2 separate regions of the Homo sapiens genome follow, and region 2 is linked to region 1. Evidence: promoter capture Hi-C in human tissues and cell types (Jung and others, 2019). All regions are on one chromosome and are shown on one strand. Each heading gives the region's core, a stretch centred on a gene start or on the middle of the fragment in contact. The rest is flanking DNA. Distances are from core to core; before and after follow the strand shown. Region 1 holds the start of TUSC2 (tumor suppressor 2, mitochondrial calcium regulator). Region 2 overlaps LOC105377085 (a long non-coding RNA gene).

Region 1 (6,010 bases), core at 2,157-4,656:
CCTGCCAGAGTCCTGTGCCAGGCCTACCTATTGAACCCAGGTGGTAGTCTAGACACTGGGTGTCAGAGCCCCCACAGGATGCCACTCTCATGTGCAGGATCTACAAATCATTTTATTGAAATTGAACAAATAACACAACAGTCTTCCTAAGCTAGGGGCCATCCTCCCCAAGCCATTTCCCACATTATAGAAGCACAGAGCTTGCACAGTACTTAAAAAAAAAGTCACCTCTATATAGAAATCAGACTCTGCCACGACATCATCATGGACTATTTACAAACCTTCACATTATAAGTATTCCTTTTATGGTTTTTCCCTCCTTTCTTTCCCTACCCAGGGGTTCTAGTGCTTTCCCTTGACTGATCCTGAAGGGGTGGGGGTTACTGTAAGGGAGGGGGTGGTAGGCTACTCATAACTACTGGCACCAGCCTTAGGGTGTTGTCCCTTACCACAAGGTGGTGAACAGTCCCCTCCCAATTGGAGGGGTGGAGGATTTGGTGCAAAGCCATGGAGATTAGACAGAATAGGTGGGTTGGAGTAACTCCCCATAGGCACAAGCATCCGCAGCCTGTCCTGACCCCAGCCTGCACTCTCTCAACTCCTCAACTGGGGGTTCGGGGTTGGGGGGCAACAGTTAGTTGCAGTAGGGGGATCAGCCCAGCCCTGGGTAGAGGGAGAAGCCCCCACCCAGTCCCCACTCCTATCAATAGCCAGCAAACTGTCCATCCATCTGAAGGCGGGAACAAATGGCAGGTAGGTCGGAAGAATCAGGCTGGCACTGCCCCCAGCCTCTGTCCAACACAGGAGGAATCGAGGTAGCAAACGGCTGAAATGCTCTGACTAGGGGTTAAAAGGGAAGTGAAGGAAAGGAAGTTCCTACTTGTATACAGTGCCCACAGCCTAGGGGCTGGAAGAAAGCATACCTTGCTTGTAAAGTGCTGTAGCCTCTAGCAGGGCTAGGCCCCAGGCAAACTTGGAAGAAAGCAGACCAGGCAAGGAACCAGGTAACGGGCATTCCTGACTGGTATATGCCCTGCTGTGCTGCTTGCAGGGGTGGCTTGGGAGAGTGGGGTGCTAACTCTGCCATTAGCCTTCACCACCCACCAACCACCTCTTGTCCACACACAAACCAACACCCAACCAATACTGTGGGACCGACCCGCTCACAGCTGAAGGTTATGGGCCAACAGAGTTTATTCAGGGTTGTGGCCCCAGCCTGGGCTCCTCAATGGAAGCCACACCTTGATTGAGCCTGGGAGTTTCTTGCCGGGGCAGGGGGTGCTTCTGTCTGCCACCTCCCAGGGTCACACCTCATAGAGGATCACAGGGAAATCCACGTGGATGCGGGGGTGATCCAGCTTCACGATGCCCTGCCATGGAAACAGAGGCTAGTAAGGGTCAGCTCAGGGCCTCTACTTCAGGAAGCTTCCTTGTTCCTCCCAGATCCCCCCGCAAAAGCCCCCACCATGACAACAGATCCCATCTGGGTCCACCTCCACACGCTTAGTGTAGGCTCTGTGACCGCTGCCCAGCCCCTCACCTGAGGAATCAGATTCTTATGCACTCGCCTCAGCTTGGCCCGCTTCTGCCCGTTCTTGGTGACGATTGTCTCCTCATAGAACTCGTGAGCCAGATCCCCATCCTCATCATAGAACATAGAGCTGTGTAGAGGGAGAAGGAAACAGGCTGGGCTGGAGCCCCACACCTGGGCATGGCAAATGTCACAGGTCACGGGGAAGTCTGTGGTCTTCCCAACCCCAAGTGGGAAGAAAAGAGGATAATATGCCTGGAGAATCCTTTTTTTAAAAAAAATTTTTCGAGACAGAATCTCACTCTGTTGCCCAGGCTGGAGGTGCAGTGGCGCGATCTCAGCTTGCTGCAACCTCTGCCTCCTGGGTTCAAGCAATTCTCCTGCCTCAGCCTCCCAAGTAGCTGGGACTACAGACATGCACCACCACACCCTGCTAATTTTTTGTATTTTAGTAGAGACGGGGTTTTGCCATGTTGCTCTGGCTGGTCTCGAACTCCTGAACTCAGGCAATCCACTCGTCTTCATCTCCCAAAGTGTTAGGATTACAGGCGTGAGCCACGGTGCCTGGCCTGCCTGGAGAATCCTTTGCCTGGGGTTTGGGGTCTACTAGAAGAAAGTGGGAAGTGAGGTGATGGGTGGGCAGTGCTACTATGTCAGACCCCCAAGAAGAGAGCCCACACCAGAGCACACCATCCAGGCAGCCACCAAGGCCAGTTCTCATCCTTGATTTGTTCAGCAAGGGCAGCCATTCTAATATCAGGACTTTGCCTTCACCCAGGACTTCTAGAGTGGGCAGGGTGGTGGCCTGGGCATGTTGGTCTCACTCCAGAAGATGCTGCTGGCCCAGTGTCAAAGACTGAAATAGCAGAAGCCTAAGCTAGGAAGAAGCACAAAGGAATGAAGGCTGCGTCTCCCCTGACCCCACACCCCAGGTGGCTGGTGAATTGCCACTGTTGGGTCTTCCTGGTGTCTACAGCCAAATCTCTAGCACAGGGAGCGCCCATCTCCAGGAGCCCACTAGAGCCAAGCCAATCTGGTACTCTTGTGCGGGCCTCTGGGAGACTGGGCTGGGGGTTGGGTGGGTAGGTCAGCGCTCTGGATCTGGAGAACATAACTGGGTGAGGGTCTTTTTTCCTCAGCCTCACCCCCAATACTGAGGCCTATCCCTGCTTTCCCAGCCACTACGCTCAAAGGTTCAGCCCCACTACTGTCAGGAAAAGCAGCCTAAACAGAGGGTTATTATCCCCTTGGAATAACTGGGGGGGAAAGGGAGGCTAGGACCCTTCAGTATGCAGGCTGAGCCGGAAGGGATGAAAGGAAGAGATCTTATGGAGGTCTTATGGAGGCCCTAGCTTAGCTTTACCGTGCGGAAGGTCCGACCAGTGACAAGCCTCAGGCCCACTCTTCCCTAGGGAGACTTTCAGAGTGGCCAGGCCGCCAGGAGACCACTGCCCGGCTTTCTCCACCCCCAGCTCCAATGAGGCTCAAAATATGGGGGTCGTCCTGGCTTGGCTGTAGTGGGGTACAGCGGTGGAAGTTCCCCCGTGGCGCGGGACGCCTGGCCGCCCGCCTGTTCCCCCCGCCAGGGTGGAACCCATGCCCTTACCCGCGGCGCGTGAATACGAAGGGGGGCACAGCTCGGCCCCGAGGCCGCACCAAAGCTTGCTCAGCTCCTGCTGCCTCTGAGCCGCCGCCTCCGGCCGCCGAGGCGAAGGGCCACAGGCCCCGAGCTTTGGACCCGCTGGCGCCCATGTCAGGGCCGCCGGCGCATGGCGGGCCCCGTGGCCGCTCTGCTCACACCGCAGTCCGCACTACCATAACCTGCCCCAGCCGCTGATCGCAGGTGCCGCCGCCGCCGCCTTCCGCAGGCTCGGCTGTCTCCACGGAAACCTCACTTCCGCTTCCGCACGCTGCCACCTCTGATTGGCTGTTGCTCAAGTCGTGGGGGCGGGACCAATGGGCGCCCTTAGATGCTGGGCATCCCAGCATGCGTTGCGAGATCCCAGGTCCCAGCAAGCGCGATCTGACCAGCTGGGACAGCTCCCACCGAGGAAAGTGGTGGCCGTGAGTCCTCCCGGTCTTTTGGGTGTATTTGGCGGCTCTGACGTCCCCCAACACCTGAGTTCAGGCCTAGCAGGACTTCGCAAGCACCAATCCTCAAACCTGCACTTCAGGGCCTAAGGCCAGACCGCCGGGTGCCCATCTGGCTTCTATTTTCACAGCTGTATTTTTGCGATTGCCACGCTTATGTGAACTAACCAAGTTGAAAGAAAATTAAGGAACTGGCCAGATTCACATAGTTACATTCAGTTCTGAAGAACTTCGAATTCAGTGTTTTCAAACCCAGCAGAGTCCATGCTTAATGAAAGCAAGAATTGTTAACAGCTATACCCTCGGTATCACGAGCAGTGTCTGGTCCACGGTGGCAGCTCTGTATTTGGTGAAGGAGTTATGCCACACCTTCTCCCAGAGCGTGGTGTGTGTGTGTTGAAGGGATGGTTTTGTTTTTTTTTTTTTTTGAGATGGAGTTTCACTCTTGTCGCCCAGGATAATGTGCAGTGGCACGATCTCGGCTCACTGCAGCCTCTGCCTCCAGGGTTCAAGCGATTCTCCTGCCTCAGCCTCCCGAGTACTTGGGATTACAGGCATCTGCCACCATGCCGGCTAATTTTTTTGTATTTCTAGTAGAGACGGGGTTTCACCATGTTGGTCAGGCAGTCTTGAACTCCGGACCTCAGGTGATCCACCCGCCTTGGCCTCCCAAAGTGCTGGGATTACAGGCCTGAGCCACTGCGCCCGGCCGTTTTTTTTTTTTTTGAGTTGGAGTCTTGCTCTATCGGAGTGCAGTGGTGTGATCTCCACTCACTGCAACCTCTGCCTGCCGGGTTCAAGCGATTCTCCTGCCTCAGCCTTCTGAGTAGCTGGGACTACAAGCGCCCACCACCACGCCCAGCTAAATTTTTTTTGTATTTTTGGTAGAGATGGGGTTTCGCCATGCTGGCCAGGCTGGCCTCGAACTCCTGGCCTCAAGTGATCTGCCCACCTAGCCCAACCAAAGTGTTGGGATTACAGGTGTGAGCCACTATGCCCAGCCAGTTTCCCTAAGTTCTAACTGCAGTCCATTTTTGTCTCCACCACAACCTGAGCCCCAGGGAGCTGAGTGATGACCAAGTATGTATGCATACTACATCTTCACAAATTGGTCCATGGTGACTTTGCAAGACACCTGGGAGCCTGTCCATCACCCTTGGCAACTTCTGGCACCATGAGGGGCAACTGCAGCTCTGCGCCTATAATAATAAAGAGTCCAGGCTGGGCAGGGTGGCTCACACCTGTAATCCCAACACTTTGGGAGGCCAAGTTGGGAGGATCCTGGGCAACACAGAGAGACTCATGTCTCTACAAAAACTTTATATGTATAAAAGATTCCAACAGCAGGAGGATCTTGAAATCTTTATTGAGCCAATTCTCTCAGGCCCCAGGCCCTGATGATGACTGTCACCCCAACCCCTTTCCCCACAGGAGGCATTCAGCTGAGGCCACCACACATTACATACATTCACGCACTTCATAAAAAACACCTGAGGGAGAGACCCTGGCTTTGATTAGCAAATAAGGTATGAACCTGGGCCAGTGCCCACATTCACACAGACCCTGGCCCAGGGACATCCTCCTCATATGAAGCATTAAGGCACATGCTGTACTGTGAGCCAGCACTCCCTGACCTCAGGGTGTGTGAGGAGTTGGCACTGTAGAGAGAAACCAAGACTCTTCCTCAATGCCTGCCTTATTCTGAGCACCCACCCTTAGCTCTGATAAGGATATCCTGAGACCACATTCAAGATCCAAAACCTTTCCTCATAGATGAGGGCCGTCACCCCTGCAAACATGACCCTGTTCTGTTTGCAGGGTCTCCAAGATTTTCACTTCTGAGACAAAAATTGAGGAGACTTCTGTCTGCACCACTCCTGCTGCAGGCCTGGAGCAGCTTCTCAGGGCAGCCCTGGCCCACTAAGGCCCAGTAATGAGGGCAGAGGGGTGCAGAGCCATACCTGGCTACACCCACAGGTGGACACAGGGAGCAAGCTACTTCGCTGTTCTCTGGGCTCATTCCCCCAGCACAGGAGGGCCTCCATGCACACTCATTCCACAGGCCCCACTGGCCCTGTCACACTCACACGGCACGCACTTGGCGCTGCCTGCTGTCTGCCTTCCACCTGGGGGTACAAGAGGTCACCCAAGGGGGCAGGCGTGCAGGGCCTCTTGGATCTTCTGGCGGCAATAGGAGTACTTCTGCAGGATCTGGCGGAGGTGCTCCTCCTCCTCCCGCTGCAGGATACGTAGGAAGTTATGTAGTTCAGGCATGCTGAAGGCGTCCCACTGCAAGGGGCAAAAGGGGAGTGTACAGGCTGCAGAAGGGATGGCCAAGCCAGCAGACCCTCCCCAGAGAAGACTAGCACCTCATGTTCACACAAGCTA
Region 2 (6,452 bases), core at 1,889-4,388, 1.2 Mb after region 1:
GCCCAGGCTGGTCTCAAACTCCTCACCTCAATCAATTCTCCTGCCTTGGCCTCCCAAAATCAGGCATGAGCCACCATGCCTAGCCTAGTTTGTTCTTTTTGATGCTATTGCAAATGGAATTATTTTCTTTCTTTTTCTCTCTCTTTTTTTTTTTTTTTTTTTTTTTGATATGGAGACTCACCCTGTCACCCAGGCTGGAGTACAATGGGTCAATCTCAGCTCACTGCAACCTCTGCCTCCCGGGTTCAAGTGATTCTCCTGCCTCAGCCTCCTGAGTAGCTAGGATTACAGGTGCCTGCCACCATGCTTGGCTAATTTTTGTATTTTTAGTAGAGACAGGGTTTCAACATGTTACCCAGGCCGGTCTCCAACTCCTGACCTCAAGTGATCTGCCTGCCTTGGCCTCCCAGTGTGCTGGGATTACAGGTGCAAGCCACTATGCCTGGCCTATTTTCTTAATTTCCTTTGAATTGTTCGTTGTTAGTGTACAAAAATTCAACTGAGTTTTTAAGTTGTTTTTTTTAATTATTTTTTAGAGACAGTGTCTCATTGTTGTGTCCAGGCTGAACATGAACTCCTGGTCTCAGGCAATCCTCCTGCCTCAGCCTCATGAGTTTGAGGGATTATGGACGTGTGCCACTGAACCTGGCTTCAACTGATTTTTGTGAGTTGATTTTGTTTTTGTTTTGAGACAGAGTTTCGCTCTTGTTGCCCAGGCTGGAGTGCAATGGGCAATCTCGGCTCACGGCAGCCACTGCCTCCTGGGTTCAAGCAATTCTGCTACCTCAGCCTCCCAAATAGCTGGGATTACAGGCGTCCGCCACCATGGCTGGCTAATTTTTTGTATTTTTAGTAGAGACGGGGTTTCACCTTGTTGGCCAGGCTGGTCTTAAACTCCTGACCTCAGGTGATCTACCCGCCTTGGCCTCCCAAAGTGCTGAGATTACAGACTTGAGCCACTGCACCCAGCCTGTGTGTTGATTTTGTATTCTGCAACCTTGCTGCCTTTATTAGTTCTGACACATATTTTTTTTTTTGGTAGACTCTGTAGGTTTTCTACATATAAAATCATGTCAGCTGGCTGGGTGTGGTGGCTCATGCCTGTAGTCCCAGCACTTTGGAAGGGTGAGGCAAGGCAAGAATATCACTTGAGGCTGGGAGTTCTGAGACCAGCCTGGGCACATAGTGAGACCCTTTCTCTACAAAAAAAACAAAACAAAAAAAAAAAAACCTGATATACCTATAGTCCCAGCTACTCTGGAGGCTGAGGCAAGAGGACTGCTTGAGTTTCCTGGAGTCCCAGGCTGCACTTAGCTATGATTGCATCACTGCACTCTAGCCTGGGCAACAAAGTGAGACTCTGTCTCTAATAAATAAAGAAATAAATAAAAAATCATTGGCCATCTGAAAATAGAGATAATTTTACTTTTTCCTTTCCAATTTGGATTTGTTATATTTCTTTTTCTTGCCTAATTGCTCTGGCTAGGATTTCCAGAACTATGTTAAAAAGAAGCAGCAAAAGTGGGCATCTAGGCTGGGCGTGGTGGCTCACGCCTGTAATCCCAGCACTTTGGGAGTCCGAGGTGGGCTGGATCACCTGAGGTCAGGAGTTCAAGACCATCCTGGCCAGGGAAGCCCTGTCTCTAATGAAAATACAAAAATTAGCTGGGCGTGGTGGCAGGCGCCTATAATCCCGGCTACTCAGGAGGCTGAGGCAGGAGAATCACTTGAACCCGGGAGGTGGAGGTTGCAGTGAGCTGAGATTGTGCCATTGCACTCCAGCCTGGGCAACAAGAGTGAGACTTCGTCTCCAAAAAAAAAAAAAAAAAAAAAGTGGGCATCCTTGTCTTGTTTCTGATCTTAGAGGAAACAGTTTCAAGTTTTATCCTTAAACATGATATTAGTTATGAATTTTTCATATACAATCTTTATTATGTTTCTTCTATTCCTAGTTTGTTGAGTGCTTTTCTCATGAAAAGGCCAATTTAGATGCCTTTTTTTTCTTGCCTAATTGCTCTGGCTAGAACTTGCAATACATTCTGGTCTTATGGAGAAAGGGTACAAAGGTTTCAGTATTTCACCATTGAGTATGATTTAGCTGTGGGTTTTATATAAATGCCCTTTTTAGATTAAATAACTTTCTTTCTTTCTTTTTTTTTTTTCTGAGAGGGAGTCTCGCTCTGTTGCCCAGGCCAGAGTGCAGTGGCACAATGTCAGCTCACTGCAACCTCCACCTCCCGGGTTCAAGCGATTCTCCTGCCTCAGCCTCATGAGTAGCTGGGATTACTGGCGTGCACCACCATGCCTAGCTAATTTTTTATATTTTTGGTAGAGATGGGGTTTCACCGTGTTGGCCAGGCTGGTCTTGAACTCCTGACATCAAGTGATCTGCCCACCTCGGCCTCCCAAAGTGCTGGGATTACAGGTGTAAGCCAGTGTGCCTGACCAACTTTCTTTCTTTACTAGTTTGCTGAGTATTTTTATCATGAAAGCTGACCCTGCCACCAAAACTTTGGCTCTAAAGTGACTTGAGAGTGGCTACTGACTGAGCTGTTGGGAATCACTAGGGATGGTACATCCTGGCCTTCCCAGACAAACCCTCAAGTCCAGCTAGGACTACCTCTCTCTTGTCTTTCCTACATCCATGCCTTTTGTCATGCTATTCTTCAATCCGAGTCCTCCTCACCCTTAAAAGGACTTCTTCAGCAAGTCTTCTTCCTTTCACTACACTCCCACCTTGTGCATTCGCGAAGTCAGTAGTCAGGTTTAATTGTGCCTAGGAAGCAAGTACCTTGCCAGTGATAAGGTAGCCATGAGTAAGCTTGGGTTCCACATACCCAAAAGAATCCATCAGGGGCAATCCATTGTAGGCTGGTGTTCGTAGGATTGTTCCATAGTGCACTTAGGCGGGAGTATGTGGCATAAGGGTTAGTGGTATTTGTACAGTTCCAGGCTCTTTTTGATGGAACACAATTGAGATAGCTTAAGTTAGAGGGAGACCAGGCTCTGTGCGGTAACCTTGGCCACCACTTGGCTGTGGAGGTGTTGACTGTTAGGGTTTGGTGACAAGTGCTTTCACCTATGGTGCAACGGGTTTTACTAGTCCACTTGTGGGATATGCACACCATCCCTCTTACTGGGTTGGTAAGTGTTCAGGACTGCGGGCATTCCTGAGGAGTGAAAGTGAGGCTGTAGTTTTGGGATATTAGTAAGTAAGGGGGAATGTCTATGACATACCACGGCCACTGTTCACTCATACGGGCTCCCCTGCATACCCAGCAATTGGACACATTCATGGTAAGTGCGATGCGTTCTCCTAGATCTACAAACAGGTTTTTTTCCTGGCTTGGGAAGGGATACATCTCCTGGTAGTTTTTTATAAAGGGGTGGAAATACTATGGGTGGTTTTGGGGGGTAGCTGTCGGCTTTAGCTTTTGCTTTGGCTATAATCTGTTCTCTCTTTATGTCCTCTAGCACTTGAGTGTTTACTCCGCGTTGTCCAGTTTTGGTGAAACAAAGCCACTGCTTCCCTTTGCGGCATATAGCCCCATTATGGCATAATGGCATATAGCCCCATTACGACTGCCAGATACTCCTAGATGCTTTACTTTATAATAACTTTTCCCTGATTCAACACATTCTTTGACTAAGACTCCATAACAGGATCTTTCTATATGGGTATGGTAAGTAAAGGACTGTTGGATTTTTCCTCCATAGTAGAAAGACTGATAACACTCATGGCAGCTTGGAGGGCTGCTGTGGACAGCAGGGCGTCTACTGACAGCATTAAGACTGTGATGAGGGATATTTCCGTATTAAGACTTTTGGTTGGGGCCAGGCACAGTGGCTCATACCTGTAATCTCACCACTTTGGGAGGCCGAGGTGGGTGGATCATGAGGTCAGGAGTTCCAGACCAGGCTGGCCTACATGGTGAAACTCCATCTCTACTAAAGATACAAAAAATTAGCCTGGAGTGGTGGCACACATCTGTAATCCCAGCTACTCGGGAGGCTGAGGAAGGAGAATTGCTTGAACCTGGGAGGCGGAGGTTGCAGTGAGCCGAGTTAGCATCACTGCATTCCAGCCTGGGCAACAGGGCGAGACTCCATCTCAAAAAAAAAAAAAAAAAAAGAAGACTTGTGGTTGGAAGTGAGGCACAGCAAGCGGTTGGGTAGATACAGGCCATTTCTGGAAGCAGGTAATTAGTCTTCTCCATGTTTACACTTTCTAGGGGGTTTTTGGTTTTAAGAAAGTTTTTTGGTTAATTTAAGCTTGGTAGGAGAAATTGTGCTTGACGACCACTTAGCTGCTAATGTTTTGGAGGAAGACGTAGCCTTGGGGATGAGCTTGACCCTGGTGCGATGGATCCAGTTGGGGAATCTTTGGACTCTCACTGCAGCTGGTGTGCTGAGTATCACAGTGTAGGGGCCTGTCCACTTTGGTCGTAGCTTTTTGTGAAGGTCAGGTTGGCAGATGAACACGTCTGTTCCTGCAAGACAGTTATGTTGAGAGGACAAGGAGGTGTCGACAGGGAGAGGCATTGCCTCATTTGCTGCTTCATGGATGAAAGACCGTGTCTGGATTACGGAGGGGAGGTAATTCCTGAGTGGCTCAGAGTCTGGTGAGGATGGAGGCCCTAAGACAAAAGTTCGGCCATACATGATTTCGAAAGGACTATAAAAAGAGGGTGCTTTTGGTGTTGCGGTCTCATGATGGCAAAAGGGAGATTTCTTGTCCACGACAGATGGGTTTCTAGAGCTAGCTTGGTGAGTTGGGCTTTAAGGACAGAGTTGACTTTTTCAACTTTGCCTTGGCCAGGCATGGTGGCTCACGCCTATAATCCCAGCACTTTGGGAGGCCGAGGCGGGCGGATCATGAGATTAAGAGATTGAGACCATCCTGGCCAACATGGTGAAACCCTGTCTCTACTAAAAAAATACAAAAATTAGCTGGGCATGGTGGCGGGTGCCTGTAGTCCCAGCTACTCAGGAGGCTGAGGCAGGAGAATCGGTTGAACCTGGGAGGCGGAGATTGCAGTGAGCCAAGATCACACCACTGCACTCCAGCCTAGGTGACAGAGCAAGACTCCATCTCCAAAAATAAAAATAAAATAAAATAAAACTTTGCCTGAAGATTGAGCCCTGTAGGGTGTGTGGAGAACTCACTTTATTCCTCAGGATGTGGAGAACCCACTTTATTCCTCAGGATGTGGAGACACCTTAGATAAGGTGATGAAGGAGGGCCTGTTTTTGGACTAGATGGATGTTGGGAGTCCAAAACGGGGAATTATAGGCATGATGAGCGTTTGTGTGATGATATTTGCACCCTCTGAAGTTGTTGGGAATGCTTCTACCCACCCAGAGAAAGTACAAAGACTAGAAGATAGCGGAGCCATTTATCGGGCAGCATGTGAGTGAAATCTACTTGCCAATCTTGCCCGGGTATCTGGCCCTGGGCTTGGTGGGTAGGAAAAGGCAGTGGCTGGAGGGAACCTGGGTGTGACACTGAGTGGCAGATAGAGCAGGACTGGGTAATCTCTCAGACATGGCTGGAAAGGTGAGCACAAGTGAGAATAGGGCGGAGAAGTTGTAAGAGAGGTTTGTAACCGACATGAAAAGAGTTGTGGAGACTTTGGAGGATAGGAATTGTTTGAGAGTGAGGAAGAACGAAGTGCCCTTCCTTGACATACCGTGGTCCTTGCTTTTGGAGGTTCTGGGCCTGGAAGTCCTCCTTTTCTTCTGAGGAGGAAAGAGGAGAGAACAAGGACAGGGACAGAAACTGGCCTTGCATGGGTTATAGGGCTACTTGTTTGGCTACCTGATCTGCTAAAGCATTTCCGGCCGATATAGAATTGTCTGGGATTTGGTGGCCCCTGCAATGAATGATGGCAACTTTCTGTGGGAGACTGGCAGCTTGAAGGAGCTTGCTGATGAGAGAGCCATTTATGACACGAGTGTTTTTTGCAGTTAGGAAACCTCGTTCTTTCCAGATAGACGAGTGTGAGTGTACTTCATGGAACGCATAACGAGAATCCAAATATATGTTAATTTGTTGTCTGGCTGCTAGAGTGAGAGCTTGAGTGACAGCAATGAGTTCAGCTTTTTGGGAGGTGGTGCCTAGGAGGAGCGGAAAACCCCTGCCCCAGGTTTCGGCACCAGATGAAAGTTCTTGTATCGGTTCAAACCCCGAGAGCACGCCAATGGACAACACGAGGCGGTGTGGAGCAACACACTGTTTTAATGAGCGCCTGGGTGCAGGCGGGCTGAGGCCTAAAATGGCATCAGCCCCAAGTGAGGATGGGGCAGGGGTTTTATAGTCTCCTGTAAACAGGAAGTGTCCCAGTCTGACGTAACTGCTACGTGGTACCTGGGTGGCCTTTTTCTCGATCTTCAGAGTTACGTGTCTTCCGGCCAGGGGAGGTGTCTTCCGGCCTGGGTAGGTGTCTTCCGGC

The links. Contacts are between HindIII fragments. The study calls those that stand out against the background at their distance.
Region 2: a contact is called between a fragment that was not itself captured here and the fragment with the promoter of TUSC2 in region 1, in 1 of the 25 tissues and cell types used here (dorsolateral prefrontal cortex).

What each region holds. Positions count from the first base shown.
Region 1 is chr3:50,324,817-50,330,826 of GRCh38, forward strand. TUSC2 (tumor suppressor 2, mitochondrial calcium regulator) reads right to left here and starts at 3,407. Exons shown (of 3, transcript NM_007275.3): 1 at 3,138-3,407; 2 at 1,541-1,661; 3 at 93-1,370. The coding sequence starts at 3,283. The coding sequence ends at 1,305. It overlaps RASSF1 (Ras association domain family member 1), which reads right to left. Exons shown (of 6, transcript NM_007182.5): 6 at 4,972-5,911. The coding sequence ends at 5,765. RefSeq lists a silencer at 1-21 and an enhancer at 3,542-3,651. The HindIII fragment of the contact is 5,713 bases long and covers 2,309-6,010 here.
Region 2 is chr3:51,527,523-51,533,974 of GRCh38, forward strand. The region is part of intron 1 of LOC105377085 (a long non-coding RNA gene); the gene reads left to right. Among named protein-coding and RNA genes, the nearest start is that of RAD54L2, 8.0 kb to the right of the region's middle. The HindIII fragment of the contact is 4,554 bases long and covers 862-5,415 here.